Linked DNA regions of Homo sapiens: region 1 is linked to region 2. The links are contacts of gene promoters, found by promoter capture Hi-C in human tissues and cell types (Jung and others, 2019). All regions are on one chromosome and are shown on one strand. The core of a region is centred on a gene start or on the middle of the fragment in contact, and the rest is flanking DNA. Distances in the headings are between cores, read along the strand shown. Region 1 overlaps MECOM (MDS1 and EVI1 complex locus). Region 2 holds the start of MECOM (MDS1 and EVI1 complex locus).

What was found. Contacts are between HindIII fragments. The study calls those that stand out against the background at their distance.
Region 1: a contact is called between a fragment that was not itself captured here and the fragment with the promoter of MECOM in region 2, in 1 of the 25 tissues and cell types used here (aorta).

Annotation. Positions count from the first base shown.
Region 1 is chr3:169,401,252-169,403,951 of GRCh38, forward strand. All of the region lies in intron 1 of MECOM (MDS1 and EVI1 complex locus), which reads right to left. Among named protein-coding and RNA genes, the nearest start is that of MECOM-AS1, 45 kb to the right of the region's middle. The HindIII fragment of the contact is 6,018 bases long and covers 1-2,700 here.
Region 2 is chr3:169,662,343-169,665,042 of GRCh38, forward strand. MECOM (MDS1 and EVI1 complex locus) reads right to left here and starts at 1,370. Exons shown (of 17, transcript NM_004991.4): 1 at 994-1,370. The coding sequence starts at 1,030. RefSeq lists a silencer at 262-361. The HindIII fragment of the contact is 10,305 bases long and covers 1-2,700 here.

The DNA of each region.
Region 1 (2,700 bases), core at 83-2,582, 260 kb before region 2:
TAGGTTCCCCTACTCAAAAAACATACAGCCCTGATCAACCTGCTGTCATACCTGAAATTCTCCCACCCCCACCCCTGACCCACTTAGCATTGTTTCTCTGGGCTAAGGTAAAATCATCTCCAAGAGTTCTGACCATTAATCGTTTATTCATTTCCATTTACATTTAAAAACCTACTATGGACTACACAGACACTGAATGTGGACTTTGGAAACCAAAATACCTGGCCTCATTCTTGGCTTCACAGAGCAACATTTCAGTAGAGAAGGAAGACATGCAAACAAAACATAGTACCCACGATCAACGAACTATGTCCAAGGTTCAGTGGAGAGAGGGAATTAATTCTGTCTTAGGGTAGAAATGGCTAGGGAAGGCTGTCAAGAAGTGGCCACACCCAAGAAGGGAAGAATAAGCTGAAGAAGAAAGGTGGCTTTGAAGGTGTTTCCCAGAGAAAAGATGAGGGAAAAAAAGACCCTACTAGAAAGAAGAGAGGACATATCTAAAGGTATGAAAAGTATGAAAGAGCTTAGCATGTGCATGAGACTAAGCATTCCTCAGTATTGTCTGACTTATAGTGAGAAATAGAGTAGGTGCACATGCAGAGAAAGAGGCAGTGAGGATCCAAACAATCAAAGGATTCATGCCATACCCTAGAGCTTGGCCTTCCTCCTATTGTCAATATGGAAAATGGAAAGATCAGAACTGGATATTAGCATGATCACTCTGATTCAAAAAAGAGGAGAAATTTAAAATTGGCAGAAAGCAGATGGACCAGTCAGAGGCTGTTTCAGTAGTCCATGACAGAAATCATGAGAGCTTAAAAAAGGGGCTGTGATGCTGGAGGATGAAGAATAACAGGGAGAGATTTAGGAAGTAAAGAGAGTCCAATAAGGGAGTGGAACGGGGATAAAATAAACTTCAATGAGCTCATATACTATGTCATGAGTTAATTTATCAGTGATAGGTAAAGTTGGCCACTCCCAGGAACTGGGACACATATGGGGGCTGAGGACACAGATAGAGAGAAGATTGGAATACTGAACAACGAAGTGATTAGAATACTGAACAATGAATCAGGAGCCCTGAGCCCCTGGGAGGCAATCATAGAGCCCTGGGCCATCTAGACAGTAATGAGGCTGCAGAACCAACAGGCTTTTCCCTTGCTTGAAGGAAACCTGGAGATCAGAAGATCAGCATGGGGATGGTAGGAAAAAAATTTCATTCTTACATGTACAAATAGAAAAAATAACACAAAAATTAGCTGGGCATGATGGCGCATGCCTATAATCCCAGCTACTCAGGAAGCTGAGGCAGGAGAATCGCTTGAACCCTGGAGACAGAGGTTGCAGTGAGCCAAGATTGCACCATTGCACTCCAGCCTGGGCAACAGAATGAGACTCTGTCTCAAAAAAAAAAGAAAACCAGGTAAGACATTAGAGGACACCTTCACTAGATCGTGCAGACTCTTAAGGAATGTTGATTCCCTAACAAACTTCATGCTTGACATTAGTAGCTGTGCCTTTATATTGATCACCCTTATGTTCCTACACTTTACGATGTTCAATATTCTTTGGCAATCCTAACTCAGGTACTGCCTTCACAAAGTGTTTGCCAGGTACACACCCCTTTCCTTGCTCAGTGTTGCCTGAAGTGGTATTCCTCAGGAAAGGCTCCAAAACCACTCCTGACCTCAGCAGTTTTGATAGGCACTTATTAAGCAAAATTCAACTTACATGTTATTTATTCCTACTGTTGAGAACTTTGAGAGAAAAAAAGTGGCTTAATGTCAAGAAAAGTAATTTGTTAAGATGATTTTTAAAACTCATTCAGTGCATATGCAGGAAATCCTGCAAAATCAACATTCTCTATACAGCGTTCTTCCCTGCTTATCCTCCCATCCCAGAACTCTAAATCCCCAGAGCACAGTACTGGGTGGCTCCCCAGCCCACAGGTCCCTCAGCCTATGTGCCTTCTTCCCCAAAGGAGATCTGATCCTTCCCCAAATTAATGTTTTGTATTATTTACTTGTGTATTTTCTTGATGGAAAAAATATAGAAAAGGGAAAACAGACAGAGGGTAGAAGTTGGGTTTTATTTATTATGGTTTAACATTATTTATGATTATTGTAATTTAGGTCCAACATCCCAAGAGTCTCATTGTAATGGGTGCAATAGACACCAATAAAATAGTGTCACAGAGCACATACATATATTCTTCTACTTCCTTTTTTTACAAGACGTATTTTCTCTATGCACACAAAGCAAATCCTGTCAAATTGCAATATACTTCTAGGCATTCTGTTTTGGATTTTCATTTTAAGAAATATAAAAGGAAGAATGAACTGCAAGACACTTATTTATTTTATGGACTTATTTGCACCATCGAAAAGAGAATGACGATAAATCCCTTTTAGGGAGGGCTTGTGTTTACCACTTCATAGCCATTGAAAGTAAATAAAATAATATGGAATAAAATAAAAACAAGATGGCAGGGGCTCTATATTAATAAGCCCAAGTGATTAAAACACAGATCAAACAATAAGCTTCTTTTCTATTTTGGGTTTTGAAATTTAGTAATTCTATTAACCCTCTGAAACATAAAAAGACAAATTTTAAGTATATTTTCTTAACTGATGAACATAATAAAATTTAGATTTATAAGTTTGGTTATTAGTGTACATGCACTTAGTTCTAACTCAGTCC
Region 2 (2,700 bases), core at 120-2,619:
CCGCCCCCTGGGGTTTGCTCGGCGCCCAGCAAGCCCGAGGTGCGCGGGTCGCAGCGCGCCCTCTCTGCCTCCTGCTCCTAGGCTGCCGCCGCTGGCTGTGTGCCCTCCACTCCCGGCTCTCCGAGCGCTCGCTGGGCCTCTTCTCTCCCCACGTCCGAGCGCTCGCTGGGCCTCTTTCCTCCCCACCTGCGCGTGGCTGTGCGGAGCCGGTAGCTCTGCTCTGCCCGTGCCCCCGCCCCCACCCCGCGATCACAGCCCCCACCTTGGTGTCCCCTACTCCCCGCCGCAGTCCTCCCGCCGCGCAGCGCCGCGCCGGAGAGCATGGCCGAGCGCACAGCGCCCACTACCGCAGCCGCGGCTCGGCGCAGTCCACCCGCCCGCCCGCGCAACTTCCAGCGGCCGCCTCGCAACTTTTCCCAAGTCCACCACAGCCGCCCGCCGCCGCCGCCACTGTGGCTCCCTCTGAGCCGCCTACCCTACCCAAACCCCAGAAACAAACCGAGGCTCGAAAAGGCTCCCTTCTCCTGCCGGCCCCCCATCCCCCGCGCCCCCCTCCTCCCACACCCGGGACTAGCTGGTTGGCCAGAGGCAACTCTCCCCCGCCTGGGGGGAAGGGGAGGGGAGGGGGAGACTTTCTCCTCTTCTCTTCCCCCCCACCCCACCCCTTCGCGCTCACTCTCGCGCTCTCTCCTCCCTCCCACCCCTAGTCTTTGCTGCCCCCACCCCCACCCCCACCCCGGGGTTGCCACAGCTGGTCGGTGCGCGGGACTGAGGGCTGCCCAGGCTCCTCCGGCGCCCAACCCGGGAGCGAGAGCGCGGGCGACCGGGAGCAGAGACTGGAACCGGCAGGTTGCTGGGGCTGCGCTCCGCCTGCCCTCCACCCGGGGCCCCGGCGCAAGAGGCAGCCCGCGCTCCCTCCCGGAGCGCTAGAGACAGATATGCAAGATGGCAGAGGAGGGGGAAAAGCCAATAGAAAAGGGATATTGCACCTACTTGTGGCCAGTTTCCTTGCCCTGCCTTTGGATCTCATGCTGTGCCCAGTCCTGCAGCCGCTGGTGTGTGGTTGGGGCTTTTTTTTCTTGGATCCTTTCCTTCTTTTGCTCTCCCTCTCGCTCCCTCCCTCTCTCTCCTGTCTCTCTCTCTCTCTCTCTCTCTCTCTCTCTCTCTCTCTCTCTCTCTCTCTCTCTCCCTCCCTCCTGTTTCTCTCCTGTTTCTCTCTCTCTTCCACACACTCACTCTCTGTATTTTCTTCTTTCACTCTCTCTCCCTCCCTCTCTCCCTTTCTCTCAATCCACACTCGCTATCTCTCCAGCATTGTCAGTTTGGACACCTTCGCACATGCGCGCTAGACGCCCCTCCAACATCTCAGCGCCGCCAAAAAAAGTTTGGAGCGATTTATCACTTTGATTTGGAGATCTTGTCAGATGGCAATCGCCGAGGAGGCGGAGAAAGGGAGCCGCGGGGAGGGCGGCGGGGGGCGGGGAGCGAACGCAGGGAGCCAGAGGGGAGCAGACACCTCGCCCAAAAAAAGGGGAGGGGGGAATTGAAAAGGCTTGGGCAGAGGATTGATTCCATGTTAGAATCGCCAACAAGCTTGTATCATGATTATTGTTATTGTTTTTCCCACCATAAATTGCAGACATTTTTCTATACCATCTACGAGGGAAGCAAGAAGCCAGGGGGGAAAAAAACTTTAAAAACATTTTTTAAAAACCCTTCTCCTGTTAAAGAACTAGAAGGGCTGGACCCTCGGCTAATAATCCAGGAGAAAGTGAGAATCATCCTGAACTTGAGAAATCTACTGCTGCCGCTGCTACTGCTACTGAAGCTATTGCAGCTTCCGCTTTCAGGGTTGTAAGCAGAATAAATAACTGGTTTTTTCCTCGATTTTAGCTGTAATACCAATGCTTGCTGCCATCCTTGGGACATTTCAGTATTCTTTCCCTACCAAGTAGTAATGATCACCCTTGATTCCCGGGTCCGGGCCGGCGCTGGCATTTGACATCCAAAGACCTCCTGCTTTCTCAGAGGTCGGCTGTCACCTTCCGGCCTCCCCCACTGCTGCCCCGGTCGCCTCCCGATGCAGCTCTGCTTGCCTGCCATTTTCACTCACTCGCTTAAACCTACAACCTCGGGGTCAAAAGAAAGAGGAGTAGGGAGGAAAATCACACACTCTTAAAAAAATACATTGTTGAAATTTCCTTTAATTACAGGATTTACCAATGAAGTGCCACTCAGAAATGGGAATTCCTAAAGGGGCTAGCTGTGTACAAGGTATGAATCAATCCCAACTAGGTATAGATTTTCTTTTGGTACAACCTTCTTGCATTAAACAGTTTTGTTCAATACCTTCCATGTGCTATTTATGTCCCCATTAATATCTGTTGCAAATCCTGCCAGACACCATAAAAGAAAATTACAATCTTTTCAGTCTCCGTGCTGCAACAATACATCCTTGATGTTCAAGTTAAAGGAAAAGAAAAGCAGGTCCTGGGCATGAGTTTGGCAAAGGCTGTGGAGGGAAAGGGGAATCATTGAGAATGCCCAGTCGTACCTGTTGGTATTTATTATCAAATCTAGGACTGCAGACATGAGAGAGCAAATAACAAGGTTCAACCCCAAAGGGTATCAATGGCCTGCAAATCTCTTTATTCAAGAGAATCAAAGTTCAAAGAATTTGTCCTTGTTAAGGATGCCTAC